2 separate regions of the Homo sapiens genome follow, and region 1 is linked to region 2. Evidence: promoter capture Hi-C in 16 types of primary human blood cells and fetal thymus (Javierre and others, 2016). All regions are on one chromosome and are shown on one strand. The core of a region is centred on a gene start or on the middle of the fragment in contact, and the rest is flanking DNA. Distances in the headings are between cores, read along the strand shown.

The links. Contacts are between HindIII fragments. The CHiCAGO score rates a contact against its expected background, and 5 or more counts as called.
Region 1: a contact is called between a fragment that was not itself captured here and the fragment with the promoter of TRUB1 in region 2, in 1 of 17 cell types (fetal thymus). The highest score is 5.4, in fetal thymus.

Annotation. Positions count from the first base shown.
Region 1 is chr10:114,300,691-114,305,980 of GRCh38, reverse strand. AFAP1L2 (actin filament associated protein 1 like 2) reads left to right here. Exons shown (of 19, transcript NM_001001936.3): 11 at 1,051-1,262; 12 at 3,497-3,642; 13 at 4,516-4,627. Among named protein-coding and RNA genes, the nearest start is that of VWA2, 64 kb to the right of the region's middle. RefSeq lists a silencer at 963-1,012. The HindIII fragment of the contact is 3,033 bases long and covers 1,259-4,291 here.
Region 2 is chr10:114,935,810-114,941,139 of GRCh38, reverse strand. TRUB1 (TruB pseudouridine synthase family member 1) reads right to left here and starts at 2,945. Exons shown (of 8, transcript NM_139169.5): 1 at 2,601-2,945. The coding sequence starts at 2,886. RefSeq lists an enhancer at 2,574-3,113. The HindIII fragment of the contact is 6,581 bases long and covers 1-4,484 here.

The sequences.
Region 1 (5,290 bases), core at 1,526-4,025, 630 kb after region 2:
CCTCCTGTACCTGCACCCCCCCTGCATCTGCATCTCCTCCTGCAGCCCCGTCCCCTCCTGCACCTGTGTCCCCTCCTGCACCCGCGTCCCCTCCTGCCCCTGCGCCCCCTCCTGCACCCGCGTCCCCTCCTGCACCCGCGTCCCCTCCTGGATCTGCCTCCCCTCCTGCAGCCCCGACGCCTCCTGCATCTGCGTCCCCTCCTGCAGCCCCGACCAGTCCTGTACGTGCACCCCCTCCTGCATCTGCATCTCCTCCTGTAGCCCCGTCCCCTCCAGCCCCGCTCCCTCCTGCAGCCCCGTCCCCTCCTGCACCTGCATCCCCTCCTGCATCTGCATCTCCTCCTGCATCTGCATCCCCTCCTGCATCTGCATCTCCTTCTGCAGCCCCGTCGCCTCCTGCATCTGCGCCCCCTCCTGCATCTGTGTCCCCTCCTGCAGCCCCAACCCCTCCTGTACCTGCACCCCCTCCTGCATCTCCTCCTGCAGCCCCGTCCCCTCCTGCATCTGCGTCCCCTCCTGCACCTGCGTCCCCTCCTGCATCTGCGTCCCCTCCTGCATCTGCATCTCCTTCTGCAGCGCCGTCCCCTCCTGCAGCCCCGCTCTCTCCTGCAGCCCCGCTCCCTCCTGCAGCCCAGTCCCCTCCTGCATCCGCGACCCCTCCTGCAGCTCCGTCCCCTCCTGCGTCCGCATCCCCTCCTGCATCCGCGTGCCCTCCCACATCCACGTCTCCTCCCGCAGCCCCGCCCCCTCCTTTATCTGCATGCCCTCCCGCAGCCCCGCCCCCTCCTTCATCTGCGTCCCCTCCTGCAGCCCAGTCCCCTCCTGCAGCCCAGTCCCCTCCTGCATCTGCGTCCCCTCCTGCAGCCCGGTCCCCTCCTGCATCTGCGTCCCCTCCTGGAGCCCAGTCCCCTCTTGCATCCGCATCCGCTTCCCCTCCCGCAGCCCCGCCCCCTCCTGCATCTGTGTGCCCTCCCGAAGCCCCGCCCCCTCCTGCATCTGCGTCCCCTCCTGCAGCCCTGTCCCCTCCTGCATCTGCACTTCCTCCTGCAGGTTACCTGAACGTGCTGGTGAACAGCCAGTGGAAGTCTCGCTGGTGCTCTGTCAGGGACAATCACCTGCACTTCTACCAGGACCGGAACCGGAGCAAGGTGGCCCAGCAACCCCTCAGCCTGGTGGGCTGCGAGGTGGTCCCAGACCCCAGCCCCGACCACCTCTACTCCTTCCGCATCCTCCACAAGGGCGAGGAGCTGGCCAAGCTTGAGGTACCGCCGGCCTGCAGGGGGAGCAGGGCCAGCCAGGGTGTGGCGGTGGTGGCTGTTTGCTGCCAGTCTCCAGGACTGTAATGCTACTAAGGGAGAATCAATGTCCCCGCGTGTTATTTTTACTTCGTTTGCCTGAGATTGTTTGCATTTTTAAAAATTTCCATTCCTTTTCTGACCTCAGAGTAGTTGCGTTATAAGAGTGGAACCATGCGCTACTTCCTGCACTTAGGGCAGAAGGAGTATTTTTAGTTCTCTGAGCTACTGGAAAAGCTGCTGGGGATTCAAAGTGGGTGTTGTTTTGTTTGGGTATCACCAGCTGGGAGAGCCTCTAGGCCCAGTACGTAAAAACCACACTGTTAGAGCTTATCTGGGGGAAAAAATTCGCTTTGTGATACAATTACATTCCTCTCGCTCCCCATCCTCCCTTTGATGTGATGTTACGTTTACAAAAATAAGAAGTGACATAACGCTTTGCAAGCTGCGGCAGGCGGAGACCGAGTCCCTTCCACGCATGGAAGCACACACTTGCCCGTGAATGTCCGTTCACTTAGTCTTTGATGTGGAGGTCCTCATCCAAACTTTGCTCCAATCCTGCCCTCTGGTGGCTGAAAGACCCACATCGCAATTGCTTCCCAGGGTCCAGCTTGTAGCTTATATTCATCCATTCAGAGGTTCCCCATCAACAGACATCTTCTCAGCACAGGAATATGGTGGACAAGAGCAATATGGACTCCGTCCTTGTGGCACTTACATCCTAGTTTGGGAGTGTGATGTTATTCAGCAAATTACCCAGCCAATCGCTGGGCTACAATGGCTGGAAAGAAGTGGGGAGGGTGCTATAGACTTGTACTGGGGTCTGGGTGACAGGCTGGAGCGGGAGGGACAGGGCTTGATCCTAGGAGCAACGGAGCCCTGATGGCTTTCAGGGGAGGGCGGCAAGCTCAGATCGGGGTTTTGAGATGCTTCCTCCAGCTACTGGGGTGGGAGTGGATCGGAGGGGGCAAGAAGGGACCTGCTAGGAAGCTGTCGCAGCTGTCCAGGGCAGAGACGCAGCCTGGACTAGGGGAGGCCCATGAAAAGCTGTATTTAGAATCCAGTTGAAACTAAGTGGGGGCCGGGCATGATGGCCCACGCCTGTAACCCCAGCACTTTGGGAGGCTGAGGCAGGTGGATCACCCGAGGTCAGGAGTTTGAAACCAGCCTGGCCAACATGGTGAAACCCTGTCTCTACTAAAATACAAAAATTAGCTGGGTGTGGTGGTGGGCGCCTGTAGTCCCAGCTACTTGGGAGGCTGACACAGGAGAATTGCTTGAAGCCGGGAGGCAGAGGCTACAGTGAGCCAAGATCCCACCGCTGCACTCCAGCCTGGGCGACAGAACAAGATTCTGTCTTTAAAATAAAAAAAAACTGGGAAAAGGAAACCAACTAAATGTCAAATTCTGCTCATCACGGCCTCTTTGATGAAGAGAATGTAGCAGCAAACGTGATGGAGCTATGGGTTATACCAAAGGGGGCTGATTTTCCTCATCAAAATAAACCTATAGCTTTGATTAAATGGGCAGTTTTTTCTCATTATAAAGGTAAGAAACAGTGTGGACATTTTAATTGAGGTACCCAATGGATGCATTTGATTAGAATGCATTGTCCCCTGGAAAAAAAAATACCAAATTCACTGGGATTTTGATGATGATTTAGCAGCTGAGCTAGTGTAAGGTATTTAAAAGATGTCCCGACTTTACTGAAGCCATGAACAAAATAAATTTGAATGTTGTTATTTCTTGGGGATCCAGGAAGTCTTGTTGTATATGGGATTGGGGGAATGACATGCATTGTTCATAAAATACAAGTGTCAACTTAAAAGACATACAATTTTTTAATCATTTTAAAAACTATTAATTAACAGGTGGTCACTAACAGTTTTTAATAGTGACCACCTGGTGATAAGTTTTCACCTCCTAGAAACACAATGTATATACATCTCATATGGCCCTTGGGACAAAAGTCCACAGCATTATTGAGGTGGCATCAAGATGTCACTGACGACAGGAAATATTATCTGGGGCCACTGGGGGGTGGGATAGGCTGGTGAACAGGAGAAGCACAGCCCCGGGCTGTTACAGAGGCTTTCGTGGGCAGGCTCAGGGGTAGGGGTACGGTCATGGCCTGGTGGGGAGGGGCTGGCACCAGGCAGCACTGCCTGGCCCTGCTTATGTCTCTCTTGGCCTCGTTCCAGGCCAAGTCTTCCGAGGAAATGGGCCACTGGCTGGGTCTCCTGCTCTCTGAGTCAGGCTCCAAGACAGACCCAGAAGAGTTCACCTACGACTATGTGGATGCCGATAGGGTCTCCTGTATTGTGAGTGCGGCCAAAAACTCTCTCTTGTGAGTAATTTGGACCCTTCCTCCGTACACTCTCTTATTCCTGGCCATGCTGTAGGCCCTGGGTCAGCCAGAGTCAGGGGCAGCAGGGAGCACAGGGTCCCACCCCACTCTGCCCAGCAGCAGGAAAATGTGAAGCCAAGGAGTAGCCCTCAGGGAGGCCCGGCCAAGAGCCAGGAGCTGAGCTAAGAGCAAGGAGCCGAGCCAGGCTTCGGGCCCCGGGGGCAGCTTTGGCATCCTCAGAGGCAGTTAGACTCTCCAGCTCCTCCAGGCAGAGCTGTCACCTTTCCTGACCTCCTACTTGTCCTTCTGGTGAATCCCTCACTGGGTCTCCAGCACACCCTGGAGAAAAGCAGGTCAGGGGGTGGTGCTTCTGTTTCCAGATGAGCAAACTAGGGCTGAGGGAGAGGGCGTTCTCTGGTCAGGGTGGTAGAGCCAGTCTCGTGGAAGCCGGCTGAGCCACTGAAACAGAATCAGTTTTCTCATGGACCAAACGGGGATAGTGTCTGGCCTGCGCCACCCCAAGTGTATTGTGAAGATGAAATGAGAAGGGGTTTTTTGTTGTGGTTGCTGGAAGGAGATCCTAGAAGGGAGGAATGGGGGAGAAGATGGCAAAGGGATCCTAGGACGAGGCGTATGGGCAAGGGAAGCTTGTCTTTCTGGGAGGAAAATCTCGAACCAAGAATTTCAGGAAGAAGGCACTGGGAAAAGAGGGAGGAGGTGCCCTCAGATCCATGGAGGTGAGTGTCAGCCCCCAGATCTCTTGTGTGGCCACCACTTTCACGGCAACCACTCCTCACTGGGAATCCTTGGAGTCTGGTGCTTTCACCACCCTGCCCCGGCTGCTTCATGTGTGCCACCTCGCCCTGTTTCCAGACTGATGCAGAGAAAGTTCTCAGAGCCCAACACTTACATCGATGGCCTGCCTAGCCAGGACCGCCAGGAGGAGCTGTATGACGACGTGGACCTGTCAGAGCTCACAGCTGCGGTAAGGACCCGGCCAGGCAGTGGCCTGGGCCTCTCCAGGCCCTCCTCCTACCAACCTCAACACCTGGATGCCAGAGATCATTAGAGTATCCCTGAGATGAGATGAGTGGGTTCTGAGTCACCTACCAGGCCAGTAGTGCAGACACCTAAGTGCAACAAGGCTGTCTCCTATATGTGAGGCTGTGCAGTTTGCTTGGCTTGGGGACTTATCTAGATGAAACACCGGTGAACCCCTCTCGTCAGGGCTAGGGGTGTGGTGGTGGGATTGGGAGTGGAGGTACCAGTAGGCTTCCAGGTCCAAATCGGTTGTTGAGTGGGATGATCACACCGATGGCAACTTCCACGTTTTGGGCACTGAACCCTGTGCTGAGCTGAGGACCTCCTGCAGATGATCTCCTTGAATCCTAACCACCTTATGGGAAGATGCTGCTCTTTTCCTCTTTACAGATGAGGAAATAAGGTTCAGGGAAGTTAAGTGCTCTGTCTGGGTCTTCCACCTCGAGTGACATATCTAGGACTCAGCCAGTGGCCCCCCCAGCAGGGAGGGAGATCTCTTGGAACACTGTGAGATGGGCACCAGAACTGTGAGGCAGGGCTGGTACCCCCTCCACAGCTGAGGGAGTAGAGGTAATGTTGAATGCCCCAGACTCACTCTCTCCTGCAG
Region 2 (5,330 bases), core at 1,696-4,195:
CCTTATCAACACTGACACTGAGCAGAAAGAAAATAAAGCAAAGAAAACGAAACGAGTGGACAGAGAAGGGAGGAGGGAAAACAAAGCAACAGTGGAAATGCAGAAGCCAGATTAAATGGCCAAAAGGATATGCTGGGTGGCTCGGCCTCCCAACAAAATTACCACTCTACTGAGTCAGAACCATGGTCTCTGGAACACCCTGGCGTCATTCCCTAATTATGACATCACCATACTTAGAAGGGTATGGTTGTCTGCTTTGACATAAACTTCTAAGGCCAGACCTCAGTTTCAAACCCTTGATCTGTCACTTGCAATCCATCATGGATCTCTCACTCATAAATTAACAGAAACCTTTTGGGGAACTCTTTACATTTTCAACTTGACACCCCTTGGAGTAAGAAGGCCCCATAAATATACTATCTTCCCTTTGTGCCCAAATATACCTCCTTCTAACTTGCAGACGTACTGCCTCTACTATATAAAGTGGGGAATTTGGTTCACCCCACTGAACTAAGTATTCGTGGATTTTTATTATTTTCTAGCTATAAAATTCTGGTACACTTAGGGCTTTGAAGGATCCCAACAGACAAACAGTAGAGATTGTAGCATAATAGGAATCAATGCAAAGAAAGACAAGGAATGGTATTAGAGGACACAACCACTGATCATGGTTGTCAAACATGGCATTAGAATGTAGGTATCTTTAAGAACCTTCCCAAGGCCGGGAGTGGTGGCTCATGCCTGTAATCCCAGCATTTTGGGAGGCTGAGGCGGGCAGATCACCTGAGGTCGGGAGTTCGAGCCCAGCCTGACCAACATGGAGAAACCCCGTCTCTACCAAAAATACAAAATTAGCTGGGCATGGTGGTGCATGCCTGTAATCCCAGCTACTTGGGAGGCTGAGGCAGGAGAATCACTTGAACCCAGGAGGGGAAGGTTGCAGTGAGCCGAGATCTTGCCATTGCACTCCAGCCTGGGCAACAACAGCGAAACTCCATCTCAAAAACAAAAACAAAAACAAAAACTTCCCAAGCAATTCTGACAGCCAATTACAATGACATTTGGAAAGCCCTAGCCTAACTAACATAAATACAAAATAGGCCAATCACAAGCAATATAGAAATCGAGGATAATGAGAATGTCTCTAGCTAAAGGTTCTAGCCTAGCAAGAGCCTTGAAACATTTTAACCAAGATTCAACAAGAAACTTCAGTTCTTAGAGGCAGATTAGCCAGAAGGCCAGAATATGGCTTTGTCAGAAACTTGTCTGAAAGAATGGTAATCATTACCTTAAGGATAAAAAAAAAAAAAAAAGAAAAGAAACCCAGAGTTTAGCTAACAAATCAGGAAAGCAGCAGTTCTATGAAGGAAAACTAAAAAACTATGATGATACCACAATACATATCCTTGATGCAATTCCTCACTTTGACGTCCTCTGTATGACCCATACTTTCAGGCAACAAAGCAAAACTTTAATAAAAGAATAAGTAGTCGTGATACTGGAATTAAACATCTGCAGGAGTGTACCTATTTGCCCATAAACACTTAAATCTGTACTGTCAGTTATAATTCCCATCAGAATAATTTGTTTTTGCATTTTTTTAAAGTGTAAAGTTTTCCATGGGACACTAAACAATGTAAGAAAGTCCCTGTTACTGGTTTAATGGCGAGACAGAATACGGCCAAACTCTGGAGGGCCTTGAATAACCTAACTAACTAGTTTTACCACCACAAGGTGCAGAAATTACTAGGCTATCAGCTCAGTTAAGGTAAGAGAGTTATCTTTCATCTTCAAGTCTCTATAGGCTAGCACAGACCTGGCTTATTGTATATGTCCAATGAACTTAAGGATCCTGGATGCTTTATGTGTGAAATCATCCGAGCTGATTAACGGGGTGATTCTCTAGGCTTTTCTACTATTTTCCCAGTGTACGTGAATAAACGAATCAATAAAATGAACACTCTCAGCTTAGTGGCCAAGTTATATTTAGTGTTCCTCAAATGTGGTCCATAAACTACTTACACTGGAATCACCTGGAGCAACTATTTAGAATTGCAGTTTCCTAAAAATACCCCGAACTCTCCGAATCACAATCTCGGACAGGGCAGGGATTAGGAATCTGTATTTGTACAAGAGACTCTAAGTAATTGTTAGGCCCATTAAAATGTGAAAACGACTATATTAAGTCTTGGTTAACGAAGTATATCTGCATTTCCAATACATTTTGAGGAATGCAACTTTAGGGGTGCAGAACCAGTACTTCCTTTTGGGGTTCATCCACATGAACCCAACAAAAGCCTCCTGAGGGATCGATCAGATTACAGAAAACAGGTCTGCACGCCCAAGGGCAGGGTTTTATTGTGTAAGTACGGGATTTTTTTCCTCCCGTTGAGAACTACAACTGCCAAGTAGGCTACAAGAGTTCGTGCCAGGGCAAGTCCAAGCCCGAGATGCCCGAGATTCCTGTCCAGAGCTAATTCAATGGTCAGTCTCCCTTTCCCCTCCTTTTGTCTCTTGAATCACGAGCGTCGCAAAAAGCCTAATGTGCTTCCCCTCTCGCAGCGACCGCCTCAGCCTGGTCCCCACCCGGGCTGCAGTACCTGCCAGCAGCTTCTCCTTCAACCGATTCAGCAGCTCGGCTGAAGTGGGCCCTTTGGGCTTGTGCACGGCGAACACGCCGCTCAAGGACAGCAGCTTGGTAGCCAAAGCGGCCTTGGAGACCCTGGCTTCGGATCCGGTCCTGGCCGCGGCCGCAACCACCGCGGCTGCAGCCCTTGCTGACGGGGTCGCAGCCATTGCTGCGACCGTTCCTGCAGTTTCAAGGACAGGGGATGTGTCTGTTTTCAAAGACGGCGAAGACACCACCGCCGCCTCAGAAGCGGCCATACTTTTGTAGCCCAGACCTGTTTCATCGTGGAGGTGCACGCTGATGATGCAACAAGAGTGCGCCTGACAGGACCCTCTTCCTCATACCGCGAAGCTGCGCAGAACGGAGAGGTCGCACGGACTTGTGGGAATTGTAGTCCATGGCCTTCCCATATAGACCAAGAGCTTGCTGTGCCCTTGGACTTTAAATAGAAAATTTTAAATGTTGACTTTTCCTGAGGCTTGTGAAGATCCATGGCTTCCTGGGCTCACTGCTTCATTGATTGTATTGTGCTCTTACATTCAGGTTCAGAATTAGAAGACATCCAAATGTGAGCTCTATTAGAGCAAGGAACTTATGTACCACGTTAACTGAGACATTCCCAAATGCCTCACATGTTGTAGGCACTTAAATAAATATTTGAAAACGTATAAATAAGTATGAATTCTTCAAATTCCCCGAAGAAACCAAGCCAATGGTAAATCACTTGTGCTTATTTTGATGCTCTTCATGCACTCCTGTTCACCCTCCCCAAACCCCCACTGACCCCACTACAATTTTTAATAATTCTGATTTTGAATATCAGCTCTTCTGTGGGTTGAATTCCTTAGTACACTTTGTTTAGATATCAAAAGGTATTCTTGCAATTCATAAACTTTAAACCACTTCCCATTTGAGACCTTCTCCCTAAAAGTTATTCACTCCCTAACAAGATTGAGGAATATTGTTTTGATTCCAGCACAAGGCAGAGTGGAGAAAAATTACTTCTGCACCAGAAACATTAAATGCTATCATAACTATTGTGAGACAGATAAAGTTTGCCCTCATTGTTTTTTAGGTTTCTTTACAACCACTCTTTGTCCTCATCATACTCTTGGACTTTAATATCTAGTATTTTAGTGATGCCCCTTAGCTGCTCACAATCACCAGTTATGGGGTCCCATTTGAACTTGCACCCATTCGTGCAACAGACACATGGCAGAACAATTTATTAAAAGGAAAAAAAAATCTTTGAGGGAGTTTTTTCAGGGTGGAAAGCTGAAACTCCTAGAAGGAAGTCACTTACTCTTGTGGTCTATTATAAAAGCCTAAGCTAACTGAAAAGATTGGCATATCACAGGATTAGTGGACACCTGGCCCTGCTTCAAGATGTTAATTTTTCCACAAAGATGTTGTGACTTCAGAAGGGATGACTGCACCCAAAGGAGCATGGTGTCCATTAGCCTCAGGAAAGAGTTCTCTATTCTTGTGCCATGGAAGCAGAGAGCCAGGGACTTGCAGGGAAGGTTGCAAGGCTTGATCAATGATGACTTGGATGACTCCAAGGCACTTGGAGATTAGAGGCCTTTTCCCAATTGTCCGGACATCAGCAAGCCTCCCTATTTCTCTTGTGGCTCTGGGGGTGAGGGATGCAGAGGGAGAACAGAACTAGGGGTAACATATGATGCTTATATTTGAATTTTCCATCAGCCCAGTGTAGGACCAGAGTTAATCTGATTTAAAGAAAATGAAGAAATGTATATTTCTTGCATGTTTGATTTCTGGGATGCTAGGACACAACAAAATTAATGCTACTCTGCTATTATATCGGCATTCTTGGGATCAGAAGCACCAAGCTTTGTTTTTCTAAGGTAATCAACATCTCCCACATTGGGCAGGCCTTGAATTCACAGGTTTTTTTTGCTCCAATACATGTATGAGTTTGGGCTCTTTGGTCAACAGAAAACTGATTCATACCAGCTTGGGGGCACAGGGGGAGAAGATTTATCAGAAATACACTGACACACTATTCAGAACCTAGAAAGTTCTCTGTCTCTAGCTGCACATCCTTCTTTTATGCTACTCACTTGTGTCTTTTTTTTTTTTTTTTTTTTTTTTGAGACAGAGTTTCACTCTTGTTGCCCAGGCTGGAGTGCAGTGGCACAATCTCAGCTCACTGCAACCTCCGCCTCCCGGGTTCAAATGATTCTCCTGCCTCAGACTCCTGAGTAGGTGGGATTACAGGCATGTGGCACCATGCCCAGCTAATTTTGTATTTTTAGTAGGGACGGGGTTTCTCCATGTTGGTCAGGCTGGTCATGAACTCCCAACCTCAGGTGATCCGCCTGCCTCGGCCTCCCAAAGTGCTGGGATTACAGGCACGAGCCATCACGCCTGGCCCACTTGTGTCTTTATTCCTCTTTCCTGTTTCTAACAGGCCTTTTATTCTAACTCTTCATTCCACATCCTTGTTTTAAACCATCCTATTTTGATCCAATTCCAAAAATCTTCTGGATGAAGTCACTCCTGACCACCTACAGAACATAATACCTCCCTCTTTCTATCCCTCTACCATGGCACTTTCCTAGCTAACTTTCTGGCTTTATTTTTTTCCATGGCACATCTCACCTGACATACCATGAAAATGATTCGGATGTTGGTTCCCTCCAAATCTCATGTTGAAACGTGATTCCCAGTGTTGGAG